4 separate regions of the Homo sapiens genome follow, and all the other regions are linked to region 1. The links are contacts of gene promoters, found by promoter capture Hi-C in blood cells and fetal thymus (Javierre and others, 2016). All regions are on one chromosome and are shown on one strand. Each heading gives the region's core, a stretch centred on a gene start or on the middle of the fragment in contact. The rest is flanking DNA. Distances are from core to core; before and after follow the strand shown. Region 1 holds the start of WRNIP1 (WRN helicase interacting protein 1). Region 2 overlaps LINC01011 (long intergenic non-protein coding RNA 1011). Region 3 has its middle 29 kb from the start of SERPINB9. Region 4 overlaps SERPINB6 (serpin family B member 6).

Region 1 (2,988 bases), core at 179-2,678:
TACAATTTAAACATGCTGATTCCTTGCGAATTCGGTTACTAAATCAAAGTCTGGGGAGGGGGCGGGGAGACCGATGGAAGATAAAGGCAGATCAAATCTAAGAGTCCACATCTTGTAAAACTATGGATTCACAGACATCGTCCTTTTGCAAACCCGGCAAGCCTGCCTTACCAATCTGGGGGTGTGTGCCCTTTTCACACCCATCACAGACTCCACCTGTGGACCAGGCACTGCCCCAGCCCAGCCCAAGTCTGCACCCCCTTATCCAGGAGAGGCAGGCGGCTTCTTTCGAGGGCAGCACACCCGGCTCTCCGACCATCAGCTGCATCCACCGCCGAGATAACTACGGAAGCCCAACGGCCAAGGCCGCACTCACCTTGCCGCAGCCCGGCGGCCCCCACAGGATAAGCGAGGGGATTTCGTTGGTCTCCAGGAGCGAGCGCAGCAGGGTATCCTGGCCCACGGCCTTGCTCTGCCCGAAGTAATCCTGCAGCGTGTCAGGACGCATCGTGTCGGCCAGCGGCTTGCCCTGTAGCATCTGTCGGATCTCCTCGGCAGCCAGCGCCCGGGGGTGCGGGCGGCCCCCGCCACTGGCCCCGAAGGCGGTGGCGGCTTCGGCAGCGTCCGCGTCCCAGTGCCCCGGGTCGTCCTCGCCGTCCGCGTCCGCGTCCCCGTCGCCATCGCCGTCGCCCACGGCCTCCTCCTCCTCCTGCGCCTCCGCCTCGTCCCAGCTGCGCGGAGACGCGCTCCCCGCCGCGGCGGCGGCCGCCGGCCTCTTCCCCGACCCCTTCCTCCCGGGGCTGCTGGAGCGGGCCACCGGGAAGTCGGGGATAAGGCGGGCGCCGCTGGGTGTGGGCGGCGCGTCGTAGCTCTCGCGGCTCTCGGTCTCGCCGCCGTCGTCGCCCTCCTCACCCTCGCCCTCGCTGCTCTCGGCTGCCGTCGGGGTGGCTGGCTGCTTCAGCGCCGAGCTCTCCGACAGCCGCCGCCTCTTGGCGCCGGGCGGCGAGGGCCCCTTGGCCCGCTCCCCGGCGCGGTGCGACCCGGCCGCGGGCTCCGCGTGCCCCGCCGGGTGGAGCAGCAGACAGCGGTCCAGGTGCGAGTTGATGTGCGCGGCGGGCATCATCTGCTGGCACACGGGGCACTGCACCTGGTGCAGCTGCGAAAGGAAGGGGTCGTCTTCCGGCCCGCTCACCTCCATGGCGGCCGCCGCCCTCCCCGGCGCCCGGCGCGGCCGCAGCAACCCGTGCGCACGCGGAGGCCTTCGATGCCCTCCGCTAGGCCCCGCGCCGCGAGACCCTCGCTCGGGGAACCAGCAGGACGCTCGCGGGCCGGAGGAGGGCGCCGCTCATGCCTCACGTCCGCAGCTCCCGCGTCCGCCCGCCCTCGGCCGGCCGCTGGCAGCGCCTCACGCGGCGTGTCGGGAAGTGTAGTTCGTGGCCGTTTGCCCCGGCGGCGGAGGCGCCTCGCGCGGCATGTAAGTAAGTGTAGTCCGTGGCCGTTTGCCCCAATCACCGCCGAGAATACCTCGCGCGGCACTTCGGGAAGTGTAGTCCGCGGCCATTCGCCCCAGCTGCCGTGCGTCCATTTCCGACTCTGAGAACAGCCTTTGCGGGGGCGGGGGAGGGGCGGGGGGGGGGGTTGCGAGGCGAGCGTGGTGCGCGTGCGCGAGGTTGCGCGGTGGCGGACGCAGCCCTCCGCCCAGGCCTGCGAGTCGCGCGAGGGCAGGGAGGAGCCACGGACTGCGCGAGGTTGTTGGAGCGGCGAGCGCCGCTTTCCCGGCCTTCCGTGCTGGGCTGTTGAATGGGCCTGTGGGGACAAGCAGGAGGCGGCCGCAGCGGGTCGTTTGTAACGAAAGGGAAATGGGGGAAAAAACCCAAAAGCCTCCAATAGAAAACCAGTGTTCTATTGGACGTGAACAGCAGAAAAAATACAAACAAGTACGCGAGTGAAAGAAATGCTCACCTCAGTAGTGGTCAGGGAAATGAAAATAAAGCGTCCCTCGCCCCCTTTTAGATGTGTTGGCGTTTAAGTCAAGGGCGGTTCACCTACAGCGCGCTTCGAGCCAAGAGATGCTTCTCGCGGGCCGCTGTGTAATAGTGGCAAATCGGAAACACCAGCCTTCTGTCTCCTTAGCAACCAAATGATGGGAGGCGCCCGTGTGCAATTACGTCCTAGACGGATAGAAATGGAAAGAATATCAGATTAAAACAAGTGTGGTAGTCTGCATCTTTGAATGAATTACCATGTTATTTTTTGCTTTTGTCTAAGTCTCCCGTTTTAAAACATGTATCTCAAAACAGGCATTTTTGGTAACTAGAAGAGGTAAATGAATTGAGGGAGAATGAAGACTTTTCCGAAATTTGGCCAAAACTTGAATTTTTATTTCATCTGGGCAAGAGCACATTGAGGGTCTCACTCGTTCTGTCGCCCAGGCTGGAGTGCAGGGCCGCGACCAGAGCTCACAGCCTTGAACTCCTGGGCGCCCGGGACCCTTCCGCCTTAGCCTTTGGAGTCGTCCTGGGGTTACAGGCTGAGCCACCACGCCTGGCTGGCTGGTTAAGAGTTGTTTCTAACTAAAAAAGTTAGGCTCAAAAATAAGATTAATAGAAACGCTAGAGAAACAAGTTAAACTTTAATCATCATGTAACGTGAAACTACCAAAAGAGGATCGTGAGCTTTCATTATTTTTTTGAGACGCAGTTTCACTCTTGTCCAGGCTGGAGTGCAATGGCGCAATCTCAGCTCACGGCAACCTCCGCCTCCCGGGTTCCAGTGATTCTGCTGTCTCAGCCTCTCGAGTAGCTGGAATTACGGGCGTCCGCCACCACACCCAGGTAATTTTTTTGGATTTTTAGTACAGACGGGGTTTCTTCCTCGAACTCCCGACCTCAGGTGATCCGCCCACCTCGGTCTCCCAAAGTGCTGGGATTACAGGCATGAGCCACTGCGCCCGACCGTGAGCTTTTTTTTTTCATTTGTCCCTCAGCA
Region 2 (2,902 bases), core at 319-2,818, 230 kb before region 1:
CTAATTTCTTATAAAAATACTAATACAAAACTGCTTATTGACTGCATCTCATCAGCTGTTATTCTTTTAGACTGATTGAATTATTCTAAGTTGCTTTTCCAGATTCATCTAATAAAAAGAAAGATTGGATCTGACATGAACAGTGTATAAATTAGTACAAGAAAGTCTCTTTTCTGAATCAAATCTTGGTCCTACAGTTTAGGATTTTATTTATTTAATTTACTTTGAGACAGGGTCTCATTCTGTTGCCCAGGCTGGAGAGCAGCGGCGCTATATCTCAGCTCACTGCAACCTCCGCGTCCCGGGTTCAAGCGATTCTGGTGCCTCAGCTTCCTGAGTAGCTGGGACTACAGGTGAGCGCCATCACACCCGGCTAAATTTTTTATTGTATTTTTAGTAGAGACAGGGTTTCATCATGTTGGCCAGGCTGGTCTCCAACTCCTGGCCTCAAGTGATCCACCAGCCTCAGCCTCCCAAAGTGCTGGGATTACAGGAGTGAGCCACCATGCCCAGCCTAGTTTAGGATTAAAAAATTGTTCTATGCCTTAATGCCAAAGATAGAACATTGTAATAATTATTTTATTACAATTTATGTAATTATTTTAATTATTTTATGTCTTTAAGAAACAATTTGCCTCTGTCATATCTCACATTAAAATGGAAAAAAAAATTCCTTATGTTTGTGTTCTAACAAATTAAAAGTTGTGTATCATTGTGAATTCAAAAGAGAAGCAGGTAACACATGAACTGGGATCATGGAAACCAAACCAGAATAAAGCAAGCCCAGCACAATACTATCTTGGAGGCTGACCAGTTAGAAGGTCTTAAACATAATATATTTTAAACAAACAGTTAAAGGAAAAAGATTAACCTAGTGTTGTAACCGAGCGAGTTACAGAGAAACGCCACACTCTGAGACGAATTCAGGAGTCCTTTATTAGCCGGCAGCCGAGAGACAGCTAGCGCTCGAAATTCTCTTGGCCCCGAAGAAGGAGCTAGATTTTCTTTTATACTTTGGTTTAGACAGGGGAGAGGGGGAGTCTAGTTGAAACAATCTTACAGAAGTAAAGTAGGCAAAAAGTTAAAAGGATAAACGGTTACAGGAAAGTAAACAGTTCCAGGTGCAGAGGCTTTAAGTCTATCCTAAGGTGATGGACGCCGGGCTTTGGGCGTTATCAACCGGACACAAACGCAGGGGCTCTGGGTGCTATTAACCGGGCGAATTCCTGGGAACTGCGGATATAGCTTGCCACAGTATCTTATCAGTTAATTGCATTCTTGATGTGCTGGGAGTCAGCTTGCACAAGTTAAGTCCTTGAGGAAGGGGGTGGGTAAGGGGCTGCGAGTGAAGGAGTCACGATGGAGTCCGTCTGGCTCTCTTAGCTAAGGAAGAGTCACTTCAGGTTAAAACAAGGTAGGGTATCCCACTAGAAGCCTCACATCATTAAGCTTCAGTCAGGCAGGCATTCCTTTAAAAAGTGTTTACTGAGTACCTTCTCTATGTCAGTCACTATTTGGGGCATAAAGGACTCACTTCTCCGCAAAAACAAACTCTGATCCCCCGGTCTCCTCGAGTCACGGAGCTTGCAAGCTAGTGGGAAAAATTGGGAACTGGTGCAAAGAATGACTGCAAAATAAATTGTGGTCATCTTGAAGACATATGCGTGCATGTGTGCGTGAAGCTTTTTAAATAGAGAAGCTTTAAGTGGGGGAAATTTGCTGACATTACACGATTTCTTCTCTTAGTGCAAATGTATACAGCCTGTCTTTTTGAAGGGGTCACGGTAGATAATTATGCTCTGTTAACCTCATTTGTTGTCAGGGAAAATTAAAACTAAGGGTAGTGTCAGTAGGAATCTTGGTTCCTGCCAGTTTTGTTGTTTGTTAGCATATCTTCCTTTACAGGTAGTATGGTTTCATTTTCGTAAAAATGCTGCATAAACGTGGCTGGGTATGTTACTCATTGCAGTGCCTGCTGATTTCGCTGGACCCCACCCTGCTTTTGCTGCCCAATGCGATAGCATATGGGACAGAGCTAAATTCCTACTCAGCTGTAACTCTGCTTATTTTCAGGAAAAAGAATGCCTGTGTTTCGAAGTTCCTTCTTAGGACGAAACCAGCTGAAGCTGGCGAAATCCAAGATGGCGCCTCTGAAGAGCCTCTGGCTTTATCATCATCCTGTTCTCATGCTAAACAACATGTCGCCATGACAACGACTGGAAGAGACCAAGAAGGGACAGAAAAAAAGGGGTTTCTTGATTCCGGGAAAAATCTCCGTTCTTTCCCAAGGAAAGCACGAATATTCCCCCCCGTGCTCTTAATGCCCAGCCCCTTCATTAAAGACACCCTACCTCTGAAACTTCCCAGCTCTCACAAGCTAAGTTGATTTCAGATCTTCCAATTCCATAGCCATTGAATACAGCCTGCACTGCTTGACACACTCCCTTTCGGTTTCGTGCATTGGCCTCACCACGCAACAGGAAACAACCCTTTTTGGGATAACCGGGACTCCCGGTAACATTTCCATATATACATATCTTAATGTATGCAAGGGCGTCTGGGGGAGAAAGAAGCAGCACATTTCATTCTTTGCTTTCTATAATACTGGATTGCTTGAGTTTGTGACACATGTTAACATTTGCAACATTTTTAAACTAAATTGTATGTATTATAGAACAGTCCTCTGCGCTGAGCTTGGACTTAAAGTGGAAAGGCTTACATTTGCAGAATTAAAAAAAGCATCGAAACATTCTGTGGCAGGAAGTCCTGCGAGCCTCCTCGCCCCAGCCCGGTTTCCCGCGGGCCCCAGCCTCATCCCCCAAGGCCCCACCCTGAGAGCCCCCAGGTCCCAGCCGCGTCCTCCTGGACCCCTCCCAGGCGTGGCGAGCCGGGTCGCGGGAGC
Region 3 (2,769 bases), core at 85-2,584, 170 kb before region 1:
GTTTCACCATATTGGCCACGCTGGTCTCAAACCCTGACCTTGTGATCCACCTGCCTCGGCCTCCCAAGGTGCTGGGATTACAGGGGTGAGCCACCGTGCCCGGCCAGAATTTTCTTAAAATAAGTTCTAACTTTTGAAGGAGGTGCTAGTATTTCCTTATAGATTAGCATCTTATAGTTTTTACATGGTCAGAGATAGCACTATGGTGCCACTGGTGAGTGGTAAGCAGCAACATTTTGTGCACACTAAACATTCCACCTCTTGTGATATGAAAATTCAGTACTTAATTTTTGAGCTCACTGTTTGCTAAAAGGATTTATTGCAAAATTAAAGTATAGCCAAACAGGCTGGGTGCGGTGGCTCTTGCCTGTAATTCCAGCACTTTGGGAGGCCGAGGTAGGTGGATCACCTGAGGTCAGGAGCTCGAGACCAGCCTGGCCAACATGGCGAAACTGTGTCTCTACTAAAAATACAAAAAATTAGCCAGTTACGCTGGCGGGCGCCTGTAATCCCAGTGCTCAGGAAGCTGAGGCAGGAGAATCGCTTGAACCTGAGAGGCGGAGGTTGTGGTGAGCCGAGATGGTGCGACTGCATTCCAGCCTGAGTGACACAGTGAGACTCTGTCTCAAAATAATAAAATTAAGTAAAAAAGTATAGTCAAACAATAAAATAAATGGCTGTAGATTTTCCTATATAATGAATAACAAAACCACTGTAGCAAGAGAGTTTGGGCTTATATCTATAATAATTTATAGCCTCTATTTCCTCTATTTAAATATGCCTCTATTTTTATATAGCCTCTATTTAAATATGCCTAAATTATAGTTTAAACTGTGTACCTAAACTATACTTTTCCACGTTTCCAACTGACTGCCAAATGATGGCTTCTCAAAAGCCACAGCACGAGCCACATTACAACCCAGTGGCTGTCAGGGGAAAGCAGTCCCAAATAATTATCTCCACAGTACTAGAGTCCAGAAGGACGTAGCTGTCCCTAGCTGCTTGTGAACAAGGATTAAGTTGTTTTATCAGTGAGTGAGTTCCTTATGTCCTGTCCTTGAAGGGGGAGACTTCTGGAAAGGATCAGACTCACAAGTTGCCTGTCAGATTTAACCAAGATTAAAGTGAGCATCCTGCACCTGCTGAGTCACTTAGCAATTGATTGTCTCTTGGCTCTAGAGCCTCCTCTCATGTAACCCTGGAGTTGCTGTCACTTCCCTAGATGGCACAATGCTACGCTTCGTCACTAGAGGGTGCCAGTGAGACACTGCCAGGAAAGCCCGGTAGAAAGACACCTGTCGTTCCCAGTTCTGGTTCTCCTGTAACCACTCAGTGCAGGGTCCAGCAGCCCACACAGACCATCTCTAGCCTCATTCTCATGTTTTCTCCATGCAACAGCCATTTCTGCAGTCGCAACAGCTGCAACCTCAGGCAGCTGTGTCCCTACCTGGCCTTTTGCTTCTGCGGACGGCTCTGGCCTGCCACACCCTCTGGCAATGGCAGACAGCTCCTGGTGGCCCACTCTGACCCATGCACTCTGCCAGCAGCAGCTGCATGTTTCTGTGACAGCTGCATCCTCTTCAAAAAGATCTGAGTTTCAGCCCGAAGTGTGTGTGGGGTGGGGGTGCGGTAAAGGTCTCCTAACACTTTAGTCTTTCCTCATCCATTCTCACTGGGCCTGTGGGTAACAGCTGCCCCTTTTTCACATGCTGCGTCTGTGCCCCTTTTCCTAACAATCCTTTATATTCTCCTCTGTTCACATAGCTGATGTGGCTTTGTCTCCTGAGTGGACCCTGACAGGTGTAAGTGTAGTGGGAGCTCACAGTACAAAGTAAAGACCTGCCAACCCCCCTCCTGTAGCTGTTACTAACAACACTTCATTGAAAATGAAAAGCCTGTGACAAATGCTGACCCAGGCAGGACACCAAGGCAACAGGTATAACTGGGACTGTCCCAGACAAGCCATGCTGTATGGTCATCCTGCTGACATGCCATATTCCAAGAGGAGATGAGGATTAATATTTCCTATTTAATTTTCCTGTCTGCATTGCATGCAGTCAGAGCACCCCAACAAGGAATGGATACATTTAGAAGACAAACAGGCCTCCCTAACTGCCACCCAACTCCTTGTCATTTAATACTTCCAGGTAATACCCCTGGAATTAATAGGGTTTCTCATTCGACAAGGCACTAAGGAGACGCTAATGGCAGCTTCCAGGTGGGATCATGTCCGAAACACATGTTTCTCTCACAAGCTCCTTCAAACAGAAAAATCCGACAAACTAATTAATATGACGCTTTTCGAATTGAGGTCCACCGGGTTCCACACATTCCTGGGTCAGCAAGCATTCTCCAACATTTCTCTTCAGTGGCCTGCTTTCATTTGCTAATGATCTTTGAAAAGAGGGTTGGTTAATTTGATATTTACATTTTTTTTTCTTTTGGAATAGCAAGAATTCCAAATGTAATGACCTGTTCTGTGAAAAGTGGCGATTAGTGGAATACCTAGCAAATATTTTTGAAAAACTGTAATGGATTGCCTTTGTAGGTAAAGATGCATCTTATTGAAAGAGGGTGGAATGATCATTTTAAAACATCTATTTGAAAGTTTTTCTTTCCCTTGTTAAATGATGTTATTGCTACAAAATGATGTTAAAACTCATATACTTATTTTTAACACTTGGAAATGTAATTTTATAACCTTTAAAAAACTCTTCCAAGGGCTGGGCATGGTGGCTCAGGCCTGTAATCCCAGCACTTTGGGAGTCT
Region 4 (2,700 bases), core at 127-2,626, 180 kb before region 1:
CATGCTTATTTTTTTTTTTTATTTTTTATTTTTTCCAAGACAGAGTTTCTCTCTTGTTGCCCAGGCTGGAGTGCAGTGGTGCCATCTCGGAACACTGCAGCCTCCGCCTCCCGGGTTCAGGTGATTCTCCTGCCGTGGCCTCTTGAGTAGCTGGGATTACAGGTGTGTGCCACTATGCCCGGCTAATTTTTGCATTTTTAGTAGAGACGGGGTTTCACCATGTTGGTCAGGTTGGTCTCGAACTCCTGACCTCAGGTGATCCACCTGCCCGGGCCTCCCACAGTGCTGGGATTACAGGCGTGAGCCACCACGCCTGGCCCATGCTTATTTACTTACTTATTTCATCCTGTAACAACAGCTGAGTCGTTGTGACGGAGATGGTACATGTAGCCACAAACCGGAAAATAGTTCCTGTCTGGTCAGTTATGGAAGAAACATGCCTACTGCTGGCCAAGGAAATGAGTGGGGCAGCCGAGGCCCAGGAGACTGCTCTAGCCAAAGGCTAAGGGCCAGCCCAGGCGAGCCTCTACCACGTGAAAGCAGAAAGCTGCCGCCGCAGTGTATTTTATTTATTCCATTTAACACAGAAGAATGTGCTACACCAGAGACTGGGGACCATACGGCGTCTTTGACTGTGCCTATTGCAGGGTATTTACTCAACTCACAGGAGCAGCTCCGAGTCAGGAACTGAGGGGGATTGTTGGATGGGGTGTGGTTCCTGGCCTCCAGTCTTTCTCATTGGCTGGCTGGGGTTGGTGACCAGTGCAGTTTTTTCTGGTGAGATGTGTAAATGTTGCCTGGCCTTTTTAGCATCCCAGCTCATTAATTCGTTTATGCATTTATCATTTATTCAGCAGAGATTGACTGAGTGCCTTTTTTTTTTTTTTTTTGAGATGGAGTCTCGGTCTGTCTCCCAGGCTGGAGTGCAGCGGTGCAATCTTGGGTCACTGCAACCTCTGCCTCCCGGGTTCAAGTGATTCTCCTACCTCAGCCTCCCGAGTAGCTGGGATTACAGGAGCGCACCACCATGCCCAGCTAATTTTTCTATTTTTAGTAGAGGTGGGGTTTCACCATGTTGGCCAGGCTGGTCTCGATTTCCTGACCTCAGGTGATCCGTCTGCCTCAGCCTCCCAAAATGGTGGGATTACAGGCATGAGCCACCATGCCTAACCTGACTGAGTGTCTTCTATGTATCAGGCATGGTGCTAGGTATTTTTCAGCCATGCACAAAACAAGCAAAGCATGCTTGCCCTGGTGAAGCTTATGTTTTCTTGGGGGAGAGACAGCAAGCATAAATAAGAAAATAGGAGCATATTAGACAGTGGTAAATGGTACAGAGACATACCAAGGGAGGGGATAGGAATCTGTGTTTGGGGTGGGAGTGTAGGGTCAGGTAAGATCTATCAAGGACAGCTTCTCTGCCAAGGTGGTTTTTGAACAAAGACCGTAAAGAGGCAGAAGTTCACTCTCCAGGTTCTGGAGGACAAGCTTACTGCGTAGAGATGAGATGAACTGGGTTTGCTGGCAGTGCAGTGAGGAGGCCTCTGTGACTGTAGCAGATAAGCAAAGGGAGAGGGAACTGGGGACGAGCTCTTATCACAATTCCAGGCTTTTTAGGGACTTTCAGCTCCTGCTCCGAGTAAATGGGGAGCCAGGGAAGGGTGTCCAGCCAAAGAACAATGTGATCTGCCTTAGGTTCTACCGGGCCCCTCTGGCCACTGTGCTGGGAACAATCACAATCATATTATCACAATATTCCAGGGCTAGGCTGGTAGCAGCAGAGGCAGAAGGAACAGGTCAGATTTTGTTATATTCTCGAGGTAGAGCCAATATAATTTGCCAGTGAGTCAGACACAGGGTGTGAGAGAAAGACAGGAGTCAGGGGCACTCCAGGGCTTTTGACCACTGGACAGTGGCACTGCCCTCAGCTGAGATGGGCAGAGTTGCAGTAGACAGAGCCGACTTGGAGGATCTACGGAGTGCCGCATTACAGGTGGCGCTGGGAGTTTCTTTTATGTCCAAACATAGGTGCAGGTGGGCAGTAAAATGCAGGAGGCCCAAGGACAGGGCAGAGGCCCAGGCGGGAGGTAAATTTGGTGTGATATTGTGTTTAAAGCCATGAGACTGAATGCGATCAATGAGAGGAAAGACACGTTGGGTTTGGGCCCTGGGCACCCCAGTTTCTGGAGGTTGAGGTAATGAAGATGGCAGAGCAGGCGCTGCCGGGTGTTCTGGAAGCTGGGGAGAAACCGAGCTGCGTTTCTCCCTGCAGAGAGTGGCCAGCTCCGACACATTTGTCCCATGTGTCAGTGGGGTCTTGTTTCAACTTGATGTTTATCTGTTTTCTTTGTAGAATGAGGAGAAACCTGTGCAAATGATGTTTAAGCAATCTACTTTTAAGAAGACCTATATAGGAGAAATATTTACCCAAATCTTGGTGCTTCCATATGTTGGCAAGGAACTGAATATGATCATCATGCTTCCGGACGAGACCACTGACTTGAGAACGGTAACAGCTAAGCTGTGAGCGAGGCGTGCTAGCAAGGAGCCACTCGGGGGTGTCTGCTGTGGCTGCTGTCCCTACTTTGCGGTCAGCCGTTTAACACTGGAGCGCTGCTGACCATAGCCACGCTGCCACTGGTGTCTGGCATCCACAGCATAGCACAGGGCCCTGCTGGGCAGCAGCACCCTGGGTCTTAA

Evidence for each region. The method cuts DNA at HindIII sites, captures the fragments that hold promoters and counts their contacts. A CHiCAGO score of 5 or more calls a contact.
Region 2: a fragment that was not itself captured here is called in contact with the fragment with the promoter of WRNIP1 in region 1 in 6 of 17 cell types (megakaryocytes, erythroblasts, total B cells and 3 more); the score reaches 13.2 in megakaryocytes.
Region 3: a fragment that was not itself captured here is called in contact with the fragment with the promoter of WRNIP1 in region 1 in 2 of 17 cell types (neutrophils and megakaryocytes); the score reaches 7.4 in neutrophils.
Region 4: a contact is called between a fragment that was not itself captured here and the fragment with the promoter of WRNIP1 in region 1, in 1 of 17 cell types (megakaryocytes). The highest score is 6.6, in megakaryocytes.

What each region holds. Positions count from the first base shown.
Region 1 is chr6:2,763,833-2,766,820 of GRCh38, reverse strand. WRNIP1 (WRN helicase interacting protein 1) reads right to left here and starts at 1,428. Exons shown (of 7, transcript NM_020135.3): 1 at 377-1,428. The coding sequence starts at 1,198. It also overlaps a transcript of MYLK4 not described here. RefSeq lists silencers at 508-827, 998-1,457, 1,618-1,667, 2,048-2,137 and enhancers at 1,592-1,886, 1,984-2,863. The HindIII fragment of the contact is 13,290 bases long and covers 1-2,988 here.
Region 2 is chr6:2,989,183-2,992,084 of GRCh38, reverse strand. LINC01011 (long intergenic non-protein coding RNA 1011) reads right to left here. Exons shown (of 3, transcript NR_026856.1): 2 at 2,352-2,557; 3 at 914-2,216. It overlaps NQO2-AS1 (NQO2 antisense RNA 1), which reads left to right. Exons shown (of 2, transcript NR_186367.1): 2 at 2,074-2,749. Among named protein-coding and RNA genes, the nearest start is that of LINC01011, 2.7 kb to the right of the region's middle. RefSeq lists enhancers at 939-1,746, 2,024-2,183, 1,747-2,556, 2,557-2,902 and a silencer at 2,754-2,902. The HindIII fragment of the contact is 233 bases long and covers 1,452-1,684 here.
Region 3 is chr6:2,930,843-2,933,611 of GRCh38, reverse strand. No RefSeq gene overlaps it. Among named protein-coding and RNA genes, the nearest start is that of SERPINB9, 29 kb to the right of the region's middle. The HindIII fragment of the contact is 3,626 bases long and covers 1-2,769 here.
Region 4 is chr6:2,948,723-2,951,422 of GRCh38, reverse strand. It overlaps SERPINB6 (serpin family B member 6), which reads left to right. Exons shown (of 7, transcript NM_004568.6): 6 at 2,354-2,509. Among named protein-coding and RNA genes, the nearest start is that of SERPINB6, 21 kb to the left of the region's middle. The HindIII fragment of the contact is 228 bases long and covers 1,263-1,490 here.